Linked DNA regions of Homo sapiens: regions 2 and 3 are each linked to region 1. The links are contacts of gene promoters, found by promoter capture Hi-C in human tissues and cell types (Jung and others, 2019). All regions are on one chromosome and are shown on one strand. Each heading gives the region's core, a stretch centred on a gene start or on the middle of the fragment in contact. The rest is flanking DNA. Distances are from core to core; before and after follow the strand shown.

Region 1 (3,270 bases), core at 555-3,054:
ACCAGATGTGGGATCGCGCGGTCGGCGGCGGAGCAAGGACCAGAGATACTAAGGGGGTAGGGTGGGGGTAAGAATTAGCCCAGATGAGATTGGGAGCAGAAGCGCGACCCCCCAGGTATATTTTTTCTTTGGGAGACCTTAGATGCAGAAAGTTGACATCTGACCCACATTCCTTGGTTCACGGTGCTCAGGCCCTCTTTAATTTTACCTTGCACTTTTACCTCTCACCCTACTCCCAGACTCCCTAGAGGTACGTTCTCGCTTAACGATTTTCTCAGCGGTTTAAGGAAGGCTGCTCTCGCTGGTCTCCTTCAACTTGAACCATTCCACAGCCGGGGGCCAGTTTCCCCTCTGCATCTACGCTGTCCGCACGGCCTTCCAGGTCGGTGGAGGGACTAGCCTGAGCAGAGGTTCCAGGGCGCGACGGCTATTTCCCAGCTGTGTGACCTGGACCAGGTGGCCGCCCCTCTCTGAGCCTCCGTTAGCTCATCAGAAAATTGGGGGCGCCAATCTCTAGCACGGTTGTCATGAAGCGAAATCGAGGGGCTGCACGCGCAAAGTTTTTTCCCTTGCTGTGGCGGTGCCAGGGGCCTTGAGGCTCGCAGTGGTGGTGAAACCACAACCTATCAAAACCAAGCAGTTCGTTTTACAGTCGGGGGCAGTGAGGCCAGAAAGGGAAGAGACGGTCTCACCCCTCTCCCCGACCCCTGACCCCAAGGAGTGAACAGGTGACAGCGCGACTATCGGGCAAGGTCAGGGGGTCTCCAGAGTCCGCTCTCTGTACTTCGCCTGGCAGGAAATCCCCTCGCCTGGGCGCAGACGTGGGGCGTGAACGGTGCGGCCTCTAGACGGGAGCGCAGAGGGCAGCGCTCTAAAGCTTCTGAAGCCGGGCCCAGCCCAGGGCTTCTCCAGGGCTTGAGGGAGCACAGATTCCGCTACATCCCAGCCCAGCGCCCTTACAGCAGAGGGAAATAGTTAACAAGACGTGCAAGTGACCATGCACTGGACGACGAAGGCTTGTGTGTGTGTTAATCTCCCGTAGGAACGGGAATGGGGAGGAAGGTTGGAAACCTAGGAAAAGGTGCCAGCGGGAAGGCCCGCAGCGGCGCCCGCGAGCTCGCGCGCAGGAGTCCGTAGGACTCGCTTGCATCCGCAGGCCCGTGGTCCCCCTGGCTTCGAATGTCAAAACCTGTTAGGTTTATTTTGGGGGGCTTTTTTTTAACCTGTCATTAAAATTTGCATTTCCCTTTGCCCTAAGGCAAAGCTCCGACACCCCGCCAATTCTCAGCCTAGCCTCGGGAGCCCTGGGGATCCTGGCATCTCCCCAGCCCCGCCTAGAATCGGAAAAGCCCTCGGGCGCCTCCGGGTTGAATCCCCGCTAGCGAGTTAGTAGCATCTCCTTAAGAGTGGAGAGGAGGGGGCAGGGGCCAGTGGAAGGAGAGAGGAGGAGGGGACGAGAGAGGGGGAAAGGAAGAAGCAAGGCAGGGAAAAAAATTTACTTATTTTTTTTTTCCGCTGCAAAACCTTAAGAGGGTTTGGGAGATCTGGTCAACTTTCCGAAACATCTGAATCTTTTTACTGCCCTCCGTTCTTTCCCTCGGCTAGCTGTGGGGAGGGAGGAAAGAGAGAGAGGGAGAGAGAGAGGAAGGGGGGGGGAGGGAGGGGAAGAGAGAGAGAGGAGGGAGAGAGAGGAGAGAGACAGAGAAAGAAGAGGGGGAGAGAGAGAGAGGCCGGCGTGGAGGGGAGGAGGGAGAGCGAGCAGGCCGGGCAAGGAGTGCACAGCCACAGCCTCCTCGCCTCCCCAAACTCCCAGCCAAGGCGCGCGGTGGCGTCCTCGCGCCCTCGCTCGCGTCCCCGCCCGCCGCCTGCGCAAGCCAGGCATGAATGCTGAGACTTGCGTCTCTTACTGCGAGTCGCCGGCCGCTGCCATGGACGCCTACTACAGCCCGGTGTCGCAGAGTCGGGAGGGCTCGTCGCCTTTTAGGGCATTTCCCGGAGGCGACAAGTTCGGCACAACTTTCCTGTCGGCCGCCGCCAAAGCACAGGGATTCGGGGACGCCAAGAGCCGGGCCCGTTACGGCGCTGGGCAGCAGGACCTGGCGACACCCCTGGAGAGTGGAGCTGGGGCGCGGGGCTCCTTTAACAAGTTCCAGCCCCAGCCGTCGACCCCGCAGCCCCAGCCGCCGCCGCAGCCGCAGCCGCAGCAGCAGCAGCCGCAGCCCCAGCCGCCCGCGCAACCGCATCTTTACTTGCAGCGAGGCGCCTGCAAGACGCCCCCGGACGGCAGCCTCAAACTCCAGGAAGGCAGCAGCGGCCACAGCGCGGCCTTGCAGGTTCCCTGCTACGGTGAGTGCACGTGCGGGTCACCTGGTGCTGGGGACCACGGGGTGCTTGGCTTCCGCATCCCTTGAAACTGGTGGCTTGCGGGAGGTATGAGTTGGCGGGCTGGGGGCGGGGTGGTGACTCTGGTCGGTAAACGGGATCGATCGCTGCGAGGGAGCCAAGGGATCTGTTCTGTCTCCTTCTTGTCCGCCGGCCTAGGCACGGAGCGTTTCGGCTGTTAAACTCGACTTGGAGTTTGTTTTTCCCGGTCCCTTCGGCATTTCCCCAAACCGCTCGCTTTGCGCTGCCCGCTGGGCGGGATTTGAAGCGGATGCTTCTTACCGGCCCAGGGCGTGCGGCGGCAAGGAGTCTCCGCGCAGCGCTCTGGCGCTGGGCTGCGGGGCTGCGGGGCTGCGGGGCTGCGGGGCTGCGGGGCTGCGAGGCTGCGGGGCTGCGGGGCTGCGGGACAGCAGGACTGCAGAAGCCTCGCTCCTCGCCGGCTGGGAGGCTCCTCGGGCGGCGCCGCCGCAGGTGAGAGCGCCGCAGGTGCGGAGCCAGGCGGGAAGCCCGGAGCGTGGTTGGCCGAAAGCTCACGGGAAATCCAGGCGCACTGGCGCAACACAGTGCGGAGCCAGAGACCCTAGGGTCCCAGGGGACACTGTGGTCTGGCAAGACCCGAGTCCTGGGACCCTGAGCGCTACTGGCAGTGGGGATGCGGGCAGGCCAGTTCCCCTGGAGCTTCTCCCTCGGCGATTCTTGGAGGCGGCAGGCCTCTGAACAATGGTTTAGGACAGAGTAGGAAGGGAGACAGGAAGTCCCGAGTCCCAGGTGGCCCAGAGCTGTGGCAAGAGAGAAGGGTCTGGGTCCTGATTTGAGCCCACGGGGAACCCGGGGGAGCTGGCCTAAATGACCTCCAAGCTGCCTTGAACGCAGCCACAGGAGGCAGGC
Region 2 (3,270 bases), core at 242-2,741, 120 kb after region 1:
CCTGTCAGTCGGGGGAAAAAAGGTCAGGATTGCAAGATAAAGATGACAAAATATTCCAGACTGGTGAACAAAAAGGCAGAGATGAAAAATAAGGACAGAGAAAATGAGAAAATCTAGAAGGTCCAACATCTATTTAATAGGAGATTCCAGAAAAGAAAACACAGACTATGGGAGAAGTAAATCTATCAAAGAAATTAAAGAAGTTCTCAGTACGTTAAGATATAAGAGGCATGAATTTTCAGATTGCAAAGGATTAACAGAAGCAGCACAGTGAATTTTTTAAAAAGACAAAAATAAAAAAACAAAAACCACTGCCATATCAAAGTGCATATTTCTGAACACAGAGAATAAAGAGAAAATGTTCACAATGTGTGAAAATAGGTGAGGAACATGTGAGTTCAATGTACAATTCTCAAAAGTTATCAGTTAAATGTGAAATGTTTTTAAAATAAAGTTTAAAAAGTGATGAAAGAAAGTCAATCTCTTTGCTACCATTAAAATATTAAGTACTTTTAATACAGCAATGTAAGCAAAAATATTTTTGCACTGATAATAATTAAGATTATTTAAATGTTCTTATATATTTTACCAGCTTTATTAGGATATGATTCATATACCATACAATCTACCCACTTAAAGCATATAATGGTTTTGGTATATTACATTGTTCACTTTTAAAAATTGTGGTAAAATATATATAATATTAAATTTGCCATTTTAACCATTGTTAAATGTGTAATTCGGTGGCATTAATTACATTCATATTCATATGTTATCATGCAAAAAGCCCAGGACTGAATTCCATCTTTGCCAGAAGGTGGCTGAGAATGAAATGTCCTATCTGCTATTATGGCTGCTGCATACTTCCCTAGTCTTTTATACTCTGGGATTGCCAAGGTTCCCTATCAATCTCATCCATATCACTGATGGACACCCATCACCAACTTTGTGACAACAGCTGTCTGCCAGATGTAACAGTGTGGGATGAGAAATGCACACAAACCCATGGAATACATATGGGATGGAAACTCAAAGAAGCTGAATGGGATTCCTAGGGTCCTAATGTAATCAGGATATTAAAGCCAAAATGTCCACAACATGCTATAATTAGATTTCACAACCAAGAGACACAATAGGAAACGCCATCTTTTCTTTTTCTTTTTTTTTTTGAGACAGAGTTTCACTCGTTGCCCAGGCTGGAGTGCAATGGTGCAATCTCGGCTCACCTCAACCTCCGTCTCCCGGGTTCAAAAGATTCTCCTGTCTCAGCCTCCCAAGTAGCTGGGATTACAGGCATGCACCACCACACTGGGCTAATTTTGTATTTTTAGTAGAGACCGGGTTTCTCCATGTTGGTAAGATTGGTCTCGAACTCCCGACCTCAGGTGATCCACCTGCCTCAACCTCCCAAAGTGCTGGGATTACAGGTGTGAGCCACCGCGCCCGGCCAGGAAAGGCCATCTTTTCAATGTTGATCTTCTGTTTCCATGACATCACACTTTGATATTAAGCTGTAGTCTTAGGAAGGTGCCTGGATTTTAGTATTTGTACCTTAGCAACTCATTGTACTTCTAGAAACCTTTTTGAGTTTTCTACCCCAAATTTTATTCTTCATCTCTTCCTGACCTTTATGGAAACTGAAGTCAGAAAGTAGCCCTATATTTAAGTCATAATTAATCCCCAGGGACCGTTCATGGTCTATGTGCCATCACTATCCCCAACCCACTCACCTAACCCTCTTGACACAATACTCACTAATGCCTGCTTGAAAAACACCATTTTAAGTGGAAAAGAAACAAAAAGATTCCTTTAAAAAAGTGTATAAAATGATTTAATGTGTGATATTGAAACAGTCAAGATTTACTGAGTACTTACTAAGTGCAAAATACTGTGCTTTACATGTATTACCTCATTAGATATTCACAACAACCCCCAAGATAGATACGGTTATTGTTCTCACTTTACAGATGAGGAAACTGTAGAACTAGAAATAGCAAATGATGTTCAAGGCTATATAACCTGTAAGTGATGGAACTGAGATACAACTCAAGCAATCTGATTTCAGAACACCAGACGGTAATGGTTCACAGCCCTTCCCTATGCCCTCCTACATACATACCCAAACTGGGTATGCATTACCATTTTATAGACTTTGGAAAATTCAAGTGTGGGGAACTCCAGAGTTTGCTACTTCTAGCTCTTTTCTAAGACAAAAATCCTAAAAGTTCTTGATCCTTGTTAATAAAATCTGGGCCAATAAGCAAGAACCCACCCCAAACACTATGATTTCAGAAAGTCTATGGAATAAAAACACACCGAATATATAACACTGACACAAAGTGTGCACATAAATTTAAAAAGGTAAATACACCACTAAAACAGAAGGAAAAACTATTAAAACTCCAACAGAATGAGGTCTGTTCTTTGGGAGAAGAGGGGAGAATGCCAACACACTTAAATGTCTTTATGACATTAAGAAGAGAGGAAAATTCCCTAAGAGATGCAAAGCTTAGGCTCACAAAACGAATGCCTTGGCATTTAAACTGAGGCAGCCCTGAAAGGCATCGCAGCTCTGATTTCAAGGAGCTGCCAGGGACATGGAACCAGAGTCGCTGGCAAGACAACAGATCGGGTCTCATCCCACATGCCAGCTCCACTTGGGAAGTGAATCGGTAGGGGAGGAGGAAGGACAGGAAGGAATGGTTGGCTGGGAAGTGGACAGTAACTTTTCTTAATGTTGTTTTTCCCCACTGCCCACTTGCATCCCAAATAGGGCTTGAGTACTGGAGAAGCAGGGAAGGCAGCATGGGGGGTATGGACAGCATGGAAAGGAGCATAAGGAGAACTGGATCTTGCCAATACCGTCCCTTAAAATCCAGAAGTGGAGATGAACACAGGAGGCAGTATGTAAGCTTCTAAGCATACATCTACTCAAACACAGGCTCAATTATTTACTGTAGAACACACCACCAGGGTTAATGCAAATGGCTTCAAAATTGAGTTAGCATGTTTGAAGTCAGTTTTGGAATCACAAGTTCTTAATCGGAATCCAGGTTCTTTCACTTGCCAGCTGCATAGCCTGGGCAAAGTACTTAATCTCTCTTGTACCTCAGTTTCTCTGTCTATAAAAATCATCATATAACTATTACCATCTTTCTAGGTAGTATTACTTAGCATAAATGAGGTAATATATGTAAGGTACTGTCATGTAGAAGCATTCAATAAATTGTAGCCAATGGTTGATCTTGTGTGAGTTATAATTTCTCCAGG
Region 3 (3,270 bases), core at 198-2,697, 100 kb before region 1:
AATCATCACAAATGCCTTGAAGTTCATCAAAACCACCCTTTTACCCTTAGCCAAAACTCCACCAAGAAGCATCTGAGGAATGATCCTGTGGCACACATACCCAAAGTGACCCCTGCCCACCACCCATGAGCCATGTCCTTTTAGAATTCCTTCCCCTTGAGTGAAGGACACACCTGTGACGTGACTTTCTTCAACCAATAGGATGTTGCAAAGGAAAGGCGATGTCACTTCAATGATTATGTTTCATTATAAAAGACTCCATCTTAGCAGATTCGAGAAGGAGACTCCCTTGCAGGCTTTAAAGAAATAAAGTGTCATGTTGTTGTGGTGGGGATGCATATGGCAAAGAACTGGGTTGGCCTCTAGAAGCTGATAGCAGCTAACTGCTGACAGCCAGCAAGAAAATGGAGACATCAGTCCTACGGCCATAAGAAGATAAATTCTGCTGATAACCTCAGTGAGTTTGGAATGAGTCTTTCCTCAGCCAAGCTTCTGATGAGACTACAGCTCCAGCAACTTCTGGATTGAAGCCCAAGCAGAGGATTTAGCTAGACTGTGCCCAGACTATTGAGCCACAGAAACTGGGAGATAGTTTTGTGTGTGTTGGTTTGAGCCACTACGTTTGTGCTAACTTGTTCTGCAGCAATAGAAAACCAATGCAATCCTACTTTAAAAGATCTCTAAGAAAGGTAACCCCACCCAGTATCTTTTCATCCCCATACCTTCATAATATTCCACTCTGTACACAATTCTGCCAGTATGCATTTCTACCATGAAGCAAGATACCACTGGATTTTTACCTATAACTATCTGTGAAAATAAAAAATTCAGGTTTTACATTGAAGCAACTAGTTTAAGAAAATAGGGATTGATTGAAATTACCCAAGTACAAAGCCTGAAAAATATACATATACAGTTATTCTGGATCTGTAGGGGATTGGTTCCAGATCCCTGCAGATGCCAAAATCCAGAGATGTTCATGCCCTTTATATAAAATGGCATAGTATTTCTATCTACCTTAGGCACATCCTCCTGTATATTTTAAATCATCTCTAGATTACTTTTAATACCTAATACAATGTAAATGCTATGTAAATAGTTGTTACACTGTGTTTTTTATTGGTATTATTTTTATTATATTTTTCTTGCCTTTTTTCCCAAATATTTTCCATCCACTGTTAGTTGAATCTGCAGATGCAGAACCTGTGGATACAGAGGGCCAACAGTATGCATGTCCCGCTATGTATAACTTATATACACACACAAAATTCACATAAGCATTTTAAGTGTTAGGGAAAAAAGATAGTTCTTGAAATAATGAAGACTTGAAGAAAGGTTTCTACGTTACTGTTGCATATACATTTCTCTTAAACCTCTCTGTGCCTTACTTTATTCATTGCCAAAATGGCATCTTTCATTGCTAAAGTGGTCTGGGAGGGCTATGGTAAGAATTAAATAAGATAATAAATGTAAACTGGCACTTAGTGACATTCTTTAAGCGTTGGCTTTATTATTATCTTTTGTAACATGGACTGGGCTGGACTCTGAAACTGTCCTGGTCACCGAGATTGGGGTAACTGATATCCCTTTCTGCCCCAAGAAGACATACACTGGGGCCCTCATCTAGCCTATGGCAATCTGTCTGTGGTTCCTAGGCTTGGATTTGGTTAACTGTAGATTCAAGCCTCTGGCCAAGTCCCTTTTCCAGGCATCAGAAGTGCGGGGAAGGGTTCAACATACCCATTTCTGTCCCATGACCCACTGGGAGCAAGAAGATACCTGTCCTTAGGATGCTGAAAGCTATCAATGAGCCTGGAAACAATCAGAAAACTTTGATTGTAAATAATTAAAATCCAATTTGAATTTATTTAAGCAAAATTCAGGAAGTCCAAAGCACTTCTCAGTAATGAGGAATCAGGAATTCAAATATGTTCATTCTCCCCCTGCCCCATCTGTCTCTCTTCATCCTTTGTTCTGCTCTACTTTGCATTGGCCTCCTTTTCTCCTACTGAAGACCAGCTCCCTCCACTCAGCAGGAGAAAGGAAAGGGCCACAGCCACAAAGAATCCCAAGCTTATATTAGCTCAGCCCTTTGACTTGAGAAGACCTAGTGCGTCTCTTTTGAGCATCCTTGTGTAAAATCCCAGAGAGAACTCTGATAGGCCCTGTTTCCACCATATGATTACTCTTTGGACCAACCCTTGTAGACATGATTGGCTGTGTCTTTATGAGGCAAACACCCTTTGTTATCTACCAAGTATCCATTTCTGCTCTTCTTTACCCATTTCCTATTTTGAAGGCTGAAAAAATCGGAAACTCAACTTTCCCAGCTTTGCTTATAGTTGAGGGTAGCCAGACGGCTCCATTCTGCCAGTGAGTTGTAAGGGGAAGCATGCTGGTATACTCTGGGAAAGTCTCTCTCTGGTAAGAGCCAGGTTAGCAAGAAGAAAAGATGCTTCCATCCCTGCTTTTGAACATATTCATGATGCAAAAGCCACTGCAGCCCTCTTGCCACCATAAGCCAACAAACCTAAAGACAAAACTCCAACACAGTAATACCAGTAGAATAATAAAAATCTGAGTCTTTGATGATATTATTCAGCTGTTTCACCAAATTTCAGAGATCTCTGCTTCCAGATTTTGTTCTTATGGGAGACAATTACATGTCTTTATTGTTTAAGTTAGCTGTGCATTCTGTTACTTGGAAGTGAAAGCATTCTAACAGAGACACAACATCATATGTGAGCCACGGTACAAGGACAGGGGAAGGCTCTGGGATGGATATCTCTGCCAGAAGCACATGGAATAAAGAAGGTGATGTCCTTCAGGGGAACGGGAAAACATGTCACCAGTGAAAGGGAAAATAAAGAGATTATAGGCCAACAAATCAATAGCTGTCCCACTCCTGACACCAGGTCTCAACCTCCAAGGCAACACCTGCCTGTTTCACCTTCTCTTTCCCAAAGAAGCTTCTTGGGGTGCAGGTGACCTACAGTAGAAGAGGGTACCTGGAAAGAAGGGCACAGCTGCATTCTCAGAATATAGTATAGAAAGAAGACAGCATCCCTCCAGATGACCCCTTGTCCCTTACCTCCAACCCATAGGGATAACTGTGACCACAGCTGGGGCCTTCCCTGTTGGAAGCACCTGCAGTATCCACCATGATCACCTGAACAACAACAACTGGAAAAGTGGGAGGCCTGGGATTCAAGTCTTTGCTGTTTCCTAGCTGTGATCCTGGGCAAGTCAGGAGGGCTCAATTTTTCCATC

Evidence for each region. The method cuts DNA at HindIII sites, captures the fragments that hold promoters and counts their contacts. A contact is called where the count stands out against the background at its distance.
Region 2: a fragment that was not itself captured here is called in contact with the fragment with the promoter of ALX4 in region 1 in 2 of the 25 tissues and cell types used here (H1 embryonic stem cells and mesenchymal stem cells).
Region 3: a fragment that was not itself captured here is called in contact with the fragment with the promoter of ALX4 in region 1 in 4 of the 25 tissues and cell types used here (H1 embryonic stem cells, bladder, spleen and 1 more).

The regions. Positions count from the first base shown.
Region 1 is chr11:44,308,673-44,311,942 of GRCh38, reverse strand. It overlaps ALX4 (ALX homeobox 4), which reads left to right and starts at 1,804. Exons shown (of 4, transcript NM_021926.4): 1 at 1,804-2,346. The coding sequence starts at 1,881. RefSeq lists an enhancer at 898-1,826. The HindIII fragment of the contact is 16,665 bases long and covers 1-3,270 here.
Region 2 is chr11:44,193,332-44,196,601 of GRCh38, reverse strand. The region is part of intron 8 of EXT2 (exostosin glycosyltransferase 2); the gene reads right to left. Among named protein-coding and RNA genes, the nearest start is that of EXT2, 99 kb to the right of the region's middle. The HindIII fragment of the contact is 7,479 bases long and covers 1-3,270 here.
Region 3 is chr11:44,411,600-44,414,869 of GRCh38, reverse strand. No RefSeq gene overlaps it. Among named protein-coding and RNA genes, the nearest start is that of ALX4, 100 kb to the right of the region's middle. RefSeq lists an enhancer at 1-727. The HindIII fragment of the contact is 5,501 bases long and covers 1-3,270 here.